Linked DNA regions of Homo sapiens: all the other regions are linked to region 3. Evidence: promoter capture Hi-C in human tissues and cell types (Jung and others, 2019). All regions are on one chromosome and are shown on one strand. The core of a region is centred on a gene start or on the middle of the fragment in contact, and the rest is flanking DNA. Distances in the headings are between cores, read along the strand shown. Region 1 has its middle 6.1 kb from the start of LRP1. Region 2 overlaps NEMP1 (nuclear envelope integral membrane protein 1). Region 3 holds the start of STAC3 (SH3 and cysteine rich domain 3).

Evidence for each region. Contacts are between HindIII fragments. The study calls those that stand out against the background at their distance.
Region 1: a fragment that was not itself captured here is called in contact with the fragment with the promoter of STAC3 in region 3 in 2 of the 25 tissues and cell types used here (bladder and liver).
Region 2: a contact is called between a fragment that was not itself captured here and the fragment with the promoter of STAC3 in region 3, in 1 of the 25 tissues and cell types used here (adrenal gland).

The regions. Positions count from the first base shown.
Region 1 is chr12:57,120,939-57,123,734 of GRCh38, forward strand. No RefSeq gene overlaps it. Among named protein-coding and RNA genes, the nearest start is that of LRP1, 6.1 kb to the right of the region's middle. The HindIII fragment of the contact is 4,651 bases long and covers 1-2,796 here.
Region 2 is chr12:57,071,165-57,074,197 of GRCh38, forward strand. It overlaps NEMP1 (nuclear envelope integral membrane protein 1), which reads right to left. Exons shown (of 9, transcript NM_001130963.2): 2 at 1,624-1,748. Among named protein-coding and RNA genes, the nearest start is that of NEMP1, 6.1 kb to the right of the region's middle. The HindIII fragment of the contact is 5,784 bases long and covers 1-3,033 here.
Region 3 is chr12:57,249,872-57,252,793 of GRCh38, forward strand. It overlaps STAC3 (SH3 and cysteine rich domain 3), which reads right to left and starts at 1,316. Exons shown (of 12, transcript NM_145064.3): 1 at 1,122-1,316. The HindIII fragment of the contact is 9,667 bases long and covers 1-2,922 here.

The sequences.
Region 1 (2,796 bases), core at 24-2,523, 130 kb before region 3:
AGGTCTCGATATATTGCCTAGGCTGGTCTGAAACTGCTGACCTCAAGCGATCCTCCCACCTTGGCCTCCCAAAGTGCTGGGATTACAGGCGTGCACCACTGCACCTAGCCTCGAGTACCTTTCATATGCTTATTGTCCATTCATTGGGTTGTCATTTTATTACTATGTTATAGGAATTTTTAATATATCTCGCATTCCTCTGTCCCTTCTCAGATCAATGTTTTGTCTATCTATTTGGCTTACTTCCACATTTTCATAATAATGTCTTTTTTTTTTGAGTCAGGGTCTCACTGTCACTCAGGCTGGAGTGCAGTGGCACAATCAACTCACTGCAGCCTCTAACTCCTGGGCTCAAGCAATCCTCTCTTCTCAGCCTCTGGAGTAGCTGGGACTACAGGTGCACACCATCACACTCGGCTAATTTTTTAAATTTTTTGTAGTGACAGAGTCTAGCTTTGTTGGCCAGGCTGGTCTCAAACTCCTGGCCTCAAGCAGTTCTTCTATGTCAGCCTCCCAAAGTGCTGGGATTACTCCATAATGATGTCTTCTGACGAGCAAAAGTTTTCTATTTTGATGTTTCACTTATCAAGAAATTTATGTTATTGCTTTCTATAGCTTAAGAAGGGGTTGCTTTCCTCCAAATTATGAAGATATTCTGTGTTTTTGTCTAAAAGCTTTATGATTTTAGCATTTGTGGTTTAGGTCTATAATCAATCTTTTTTTTTAGACGGAGTCTCGCTCTGTCACCCAGGCTGGAGTGCAGTGGCGCGATCTCGGCTCACTCCACCCTCCACCTCCTGGGTTCAAGCAATTCTCCTGCCTCAGCCTCTTGAGTAGCTGGGATTACAGGTGCCCACCACCACACCCAGCTAATTTTTGTATTTTTATTTTTTTAATTAATTAATTTTTTTGACACAGAGTCTCGCTGTCACTCAGGCTGGAGTGCAGTGGTGTGATCTCAGCTCACTGCAACCTCCGCCTCTCAGGTTCAAGCGATTATCCTGCCTCAGCCTCCTGAGTAGCTAGGATTACAGGCATGCACCACCATGCCCAGCTAATTTTTGTATTTTTAGTAGAGACAGTGTTTTGCCATGTTGGCCAGGCTGGTCTTGAACTGAGCTCAGATGATCCACCCGCCTTGTCCTCCCAAAGTGCTGAGATTACAGGTGTGAGCCACCATGCCTGGCCTGTTAATTGTGTATTTTTAGTAGAAACAGAGTTTCACCATGTTGGGCAGGCTGGTCTTGAACTCCTGACCTCTGGTGATTCAACTGCTTCAGCCTCCCAAAGTGCTGGGATTACAGGTGTGAGCCACTGGGCCCAGCCTATAATCAATCTTGAATTAATTTTTGCATATGGTGTGAGGTAGGGGTCAAGGTTCATTTATTTCTCCCATATAGATATGAAGTTGTTCCATAACTATTTATTGAACAGACATTCCTTTCTCCACTGGCTGGCTTTGACATCTTTGCCAAAATCAAATGACCTTTACAGTGGGATCAGCCAGTTGGTGCAATACGAAGTCCCGCCTCTCATCCCCTCACAGAAACACAGATTTAACAATTTACTGATCAAAATACCTTTATGAGAAGTACAGAATCCGGTTGAGAAGTGTGGTACCCCAGACAAGTAGAGAGCTGAGAAAAGCTGCACTGAGATGGATCCTACATTCCTGGGTCTGGGAGTGGGCCTTTCCCAGAGATACCATCCTCCAGCAGTAAGAGACCTCCAATAGTCGGGTCTCAGACAGGTTCCAGCTAAGAGTAAAATCCCAGATCAATGGTGAAAAGGAGTTTAAGAATGGATGCTGAAGCCAGGCATGGTGGCATGTGTCTGTAGTCCCAGCTACTTGGGAAGTTGACAGGGGAAAATAGTTTAAGCCCAGGAGGTTGAGGCTGCAGTGAGCTATGATCATACCACTGCACTCCAGACTGGGCAACAGAGCAAAACTCTGTCTCAAAAAGAAAAACGAAGCCTGTGCCTAGTCAACATTGAAGCAAGAATGCAGAAGTTGCACAGGGTGAGATAGGGATGAGCAGGGTGGAGGGGTGGTAAACACAAAGGAATTGCAATAAGAAATCAAACAACTATCTGATTTTTTAAAATTATGTTGAGATATTTGGGGAAAATGATAGATGCATAGAAAACTAATCAAACGAAAAATAATTCCAAGATAAAAGTATATAAAAGTAACATTATAAAATAATAAACGCATATAGAATTTTTATTAAAAAATCAAATGATTGTGAGTCTATTTCTGGTTCTCTATTCTGCTCCATGGATCTGTTTGTCAATTCTCATGCTAGCACCACATAGTCTTGATTACTGTCACTTACAAGTCTTGAAATCAAGTAGCATAAATCCTCCAGCATTGATTCATTTATTTTTCTTTTTGAGACAGGGTTGCACTCTGTTACCCAGGCTGGAGTGCAGTGGCATGATCATGCAGTGATCAGGTTCACTGCAGCCTCAACCTCCTGAGCTCAAGCAATCCTCCCACCTTAGTCTCCTGAGTAGCTGGGCCTACAGATGCATGCCACCACAGCACTGGGATTTTTAAAAACTCTCCAGGTGATTCTAATGTGAGCCAAATTTTCTAGACTCAGATTTCTCTGTCACTATCTTCAGGCCTATACAGTTAACTGGTTAGTATACTAGATCCTACTTCTTTATTGTTTCTGAATCCTCTTCCTCTCCAGCTCCATCACTCATGCATTAAGGACTTCACCAATTTCTCAACTGGCTCTACACTACTTCTAGAAAAAAAATTCTAAGTCCTTACTGTGGCTAAAATCA
Region 2 (3,033 bases), core at 80-2,579, 180 kb before region 3:
TTCCAAACTGAAAGAGTTATCAATACAGCTATTTATTAGAGATCACACAAAGCAAAGGTCTATAATATTAAGAAAATTGCCAGGCATAAACTGCCCCAGAAAACTAAAAATGTTTTCCGTAATGACAGGCTGAGTTCAATCCATTGTCACAAGCCACTGATTATGAGTAAATGTTGGTTATAATGTGCCCCAGATGGAGTATCACTTTTTTATCAGATAATTTTTTTTTTTGAGATGGAGTCTCGCTCTGTCGCCCAAGCTGGAGTGCAGTGACATGACTTCAGCTCACTGCAACCGCCACCTCCTGGATTCAAGCGATTCTTCTGCCTCAGCCTCCTGAGTAGCTGGGACTACAGGGTGTGCGCCACCATGCCCAGTTAATTTTTGTATTTTTAGTAGAGACGGGGTTTCACCATATTGGCCAGGCTGGTCTCGAACTCCTGACCTCAAGTGATTTGCCCGCCTCAGCCTCCCAAAGTGCTGAGATTACAGGCATGAGCCACTGCGCCCGGCTTGTCAGACATTTTTTTTAAAGAATTTTTTTTAAAAATCCACAAGTTGGCTGGGCATGGCCCCCAGCTACTCAAGAGGCAGAGGTTGCAGGGAGCCGAGGTCGTGCCACTGCACTCCAGCCTGGGTGACTGAGCGAGACTCCGTCTCAAAAAAAAAAAACAAATCCACAAGTCCACCCTTATGTTTTTGATGTGAACAACAAATGTCCTTATCAGTAACTATGCTTATAACAACTACGACATTTCTGAAAGGACCTATTTTGTACAATCACTGTTACAGCCAGACATTCCTGTTTGCCAGGTGACTTAACAGTGTTATGAAATAAATGAGACCAAAGTAATTCTTCAGCTCGGGGGTTTATGAAATATCTCATATAGAATCAGAATAGGAACAGTGGGGCAAAAGAGTTTACATCCTCACAGGCACATAACAGTTTCCAGCCCAAAGAAGGCATAAGGCCTTTAAAAAGAAAGAAGGGGGCTGGGTGCGATAGCTCATGCCTATAATCCCAACACCTTGGGAGGCCAAGGTGGGCAGATCACCTGAGGGCAGGAGTTTCAGACCAGCCTGGCCAACATGATGAAACCCCATCTCTACAAAAAATACAAAAAAATTGGTCAGGTGTGGTGGCGTATGCCTGTAATCCCAGCTACTTGGGAGGCTGAGGCAGGAGAATCGCTTGAACCCGGGAGGCAGAGATTGCAGTGAGCCAAGATGGTGCCACTGCACTCCAGCCTGGGCGACAGAGGGAGACTCTGCCTCAAAAAATAAAAAATAAAAATAAAAAAAGAAAGAGGGGTATGTGTGCGTGCACACACACATACTGCAAAATGAAGGACAAGAAAACAAAGCAGTTTCTTTGGGAAAAGGAGGGAGGAGGAAAGAAGTTTACCTTAGAATACCGTAATCTACTTGAGGGAGCAGAGAGGAATACAAAGTAGGCATAAATGCTTATTGATGAAAACACAACTCAGGATAATCTCAACCCTAACAAGATTGTTAACAACATTTTTTTTAAGCATGTGAAGGGGAAGAAAGTGTCAAAATACTCACTAATCACCAACAGAAATTTACAGAAGCTGCCACTGCCAGAGGATTCCAAGTTATTACCTGTATCCGTGTCCATATATCATGCCATTTTGGGATAAGCACATTTGTGTAACAGAATTGTTGGCTGGCACGCTTTTCACAAACTTGGGATTCCTGAAGCATGACCACATTTACATCAGTTTCAGCTTTATGCAAAGAAAGGAAACAAGAATTAAACATAACAAGCTAATAACTATAACTCATTTCATGAAAAAGATTAAACTAACCATTTTCCTAAACTTTGGGTTAAAACATTAGCCAGACTGAGAAATAAGAAAAAAAACTGAGAAGAAGGAAGAACTAAGGCAGAATCTTATTTCTGTCGTTTAATTATTTAAATATTACACAGTCATTCAGTCAGAAAAGTAATAATAAAAACTACTATTAAGTATCTATTTTTTTTTTTTTTTGAGACAGTCTCGCTCTTTTGCCCAGGCCGGACTGCAGTGGGGCTATCTTGGTTCACTGCAAGCTCCGCCCCCTGGGTTCACGCCATTCTCCTGCCTCAGCCTGTAGCTGGGACTACAGGCGCCCGCCACCGTGCCCGGCTAATTTTTTTTTTTGTATTAAGTATCTATTAAGACAGTATGCTGCCAGGCGCGGTGGCTCATGCCTGTAATCCCAGCACTTTGGGAGGCTGAGGTGGGCGGATGACCTGAGGTCAGAAGTTTGAGATCAGCCTGACCAATATGGAGAAACCCCCCCGTCTCTACTAAAATACAAAAACATTAGCCAGGCGTGGTGGCACATGCCTGTAATCCCAGCTACTCGAGAGGCTGAGGCAGGAGAATCACTTGAACTTGGGAGGCGGAGGTTGAGGTGAGCCGAGATCACGCCATTGCACCCCAGCCTGGGCAAAAAGAGCAAAACTCTGTCTCAAAAAAATAAAAAATAAATACATAAATAAAAGAGACAGTATGCTGTCTCATTTAATGCTCCCAACAATGCTATGAGGTAAGCACTCTCATAATCCCTATTTTATAAATGAGGAACTGATGTTTAAGAAAGATTAAGTAATTTGCTCCAAAATCACACAAATAGTAAATAGCCTATCTGAGATTCACCCCCAGGTCTGACTATGGTCTTAAACACTAGATATACTTCCTGTCCTATAAAGGAATAAAGTAAGCTAAACTACTCCATCTGTTGATTTTCTCTATCCCTTTCCTGAGTAGAACAGAATTGGCAGGTTTTTTATTTTATTTTTTTATTTTTTTTTTGAGACAGGGTCTGGCTCTGCTGCTCAGGCTGGAGTACAGTAATGTGATCATAGCTCATTGCAGCCTCAAACTCTTGGGCTCAAACAATCCTCCCACTTCAGCCTCCCAAGTAGCCAGGACTACAGGTATACACCACCACACCCAGCTAGTTTTTTTTTTTTTTAAAGAGACAAGGTCTTACTATGTTGCCCAGGCTGGTCTTGAACTCCTG
Region 3 (2,922 bases), core at 66-2,565:
CAGCTTCCTGAGTAGCTGGAACACAAGGTGCACACTACCTGGCTACTTTTTTATTTTTTGTAGAGACATGGTCTTGCTTTGTTGCCTAGGCTGGTCCCGAACTAGCTCAAGCAATCTTCCTGTTTCAACCTCCCAAATTGTTGAGACAGGCGTGAGCCACTGCACTGGGCCAAATACAGATCCTTTGGCAGGTTTTATTAACAGATTTCATGGAGGTCTAGAAAAAAGCTTAACATGGCCGGGTGTGGTGGTGCATGCCTGTAATCCCAGCACTTTGGGAGGCTGAGGCAGGCGGATCACTAGAGATCAGGAGTTCAAGACTAGCCTGGCCAACATGGTGAAACCCCATCTCTACTAAATATATAAAAATTAGCCGGGTGTGGTGGCGGACGCCTGTAATCCCATCCACTCAGGAAGCTGAGGAAGGATAATCGCTTGAACCCGGGAGGCGGAGGTTGCAGTGAGCCGGGATTGTGCCACTGCCCTCCAGCCTGGGTGACAGAGCAAGACTTCGTCTCAAAAAAAAAAAAAAAAAAAAAAAAAAAGCCCAACAGACTAAAGAGCTTCCCAATTAGTTCCTCAAACTGATACTCATCCTTCCATCCTGAGGGGCGACCCCATAGTTTACAGCCCTTACACAGTGTTCAAAGCTGCGTGGTTTACGTCATTTTCCTATAGGTACTTTGTTTCTCCTGGAAATCTGTGGGCAACAGAGATGTGATGCATACCTTCCCAGATCTCCTCTCTTCAAGAGGTTTAATGTGTGTCCTCGTGTGCACACAAGGAAGGATGGACTGGAGACATTTGTCCTCCCCTACTTTTTTCTTGAGCCCTGGGGGCCCTGTGCCTAGTTCTGTCCCAGCCTGCCTCAGGGCTCAGCTATTTTAAGTTTTCAGGGTAATATGAGCCTTTCCTTCCCTTACTACTTCATTCCCTTCACCCCACCCCCACCCCCACCCCCCGCTTCAATCCAAACTCATCCTAGAGTAGAATAATAATTTTACGCCTAAAACCCAAAAGACTCACAGACAAGGAGAGAAATGAAGAAGCTGAGTAGATTATAGATCAGGGCAGCTGGGGTGAGCAGTCGTGGAAATCAAGAGGATGAAGAGGTAACTTACGTTCGGGATTCCCTAAGTCAGTCCACAGGCTGTAGAGGGAGCTGGGAGCCTCGAGGCCTTGATGGTGGTGCTGGGGAAAAACTGGTCCTCTTCCTTGGGGGCTAAGCCCCCCCAGTACCCCCTGTGTTCACACCAGCTACCCAGTCGCTATTTGTAGACCTCCTAGCCTCCTGCCTTGGTGTCAGGGCTGAAATGACAGGGCTGGAGGAAAGTGGACAGCTGAGAAACACAGCTGACACAGAGAAATTGGACACTGAGAGGTCTGGGGCAGGGCCGGACCCTAACTCCTCCCAACCCCCTAGAGCTGCTGTTCCTTGATTCTTCATCTAAGGCGAACAGGTGAATAATGGCTGAATTCAGGAAGGGACAGTTTCTGTTCATGCTCATTTAACATTTAAGGGGAGTTTATTTTTATTTTTCATTTATTTTTTGAGACAGGGTAAAAAAAGACTAATTTGAACTCATAGAGCTCTCCTATCAGCCATACTAGATGGCTTTTTTTTTTTTTTTTTTGAGACAGAGTCTTGCTCTTGTTGCCCAGGCTGGAGTGCAATGAAGCGATCCGGGCTCACTGCAACCTCCCAGGTTCAAGCGATTCTCCTGCCTCAGCCTCCTAAGTAGCTGGGATTACAGGCGCCCACCACCACGCCAAGGTAATTTTTGTATTTTTAGTACAGATGGGGTTTCACCATGTTGGCCAGGCTGGTCTCGAACCCCTGACCTCAGGTGATCCGCCTGCCTTGGCCTCCCAAAGTGCTAGGATTACAGGTGTGAGCCACCGTGCATGGCTAGATTGCTTTTTATCTGTAGGTGGTTGGAGGAGTACTTTGCTATCCTGTAAGAAAGTGAAGAATATGTAGTATTGCTTCATTCCCTCCAGCAGCTCCCAGAGACATCTCCCCACCCTCCTTCTTGTAAAATTTTGTCCTCAGACTGAAGGGAATTACCAGGGCTATTAAAAAGGGCCAGTTAACACTGGACAGAAGCATATAGCTGCCACATAAGGAATTTTTTAAATCATTTCTAAGTAATGTCCCCTTCCTCATGAGAACTGCAAACTCTTAAAGGTAGGATGGCCAACCCTCACACTTCCTAAACCCTTTTGATTCCCTGATTCCATCTCCCACCTTTGATGCCTCAGTATATAACTGATGGATCAAAGAGACAGATGCCATTCTCATCTCACAGGGGTGCACCCTTCTACTCTTTGGGCTGTGACATGGATGAAAGAGGAGATACTCCCATCTCAGGGGAGAGCAATTTAGAGGTGGCAATGCAGTGCTGCTCTATTCCTTGTATCTGTAAGAAATAAAGGACTGTGTTGGAGACTGGGTCAGGCAAGCTCCTGTAGGATCGTCGTTAGGGATACAGCTACTTGGACCCAAGAGATTTCCAGGGCAACGTGCTTTGTCATTCTCACCCACTACTTTTTTCTATTTAAGGGGGGAGTTTGAAAAGGGGGTGCAGGATGGTTCTGACTCTGCAGGTTCTTTAATGGCCCTGCTCTGACAGGCTGCAGAACAACAGGGCTTGCTTTGAGATGCTCTAAAGGAAAAGCTCCATCTTGCAGGCAAGATGACTTCTGCTCTTCGTCTTTTTTCAGCCACATAGGACAGGGACTGCTGAGCATGTTTGGATAATACAGCATCTTGGCACTGCGAGTTCAGTTGCTGTAGCTTTCATTGTAATAAAAATCTGCTTCTGTCCCTGACAGGTAAAACCCAATCCTCCAGCTTTAGGATTAAAGAAAGGCAGCCAGGCACGGTGGCTCACGCCTGTAATCACAGCACTTTGGAAGGCC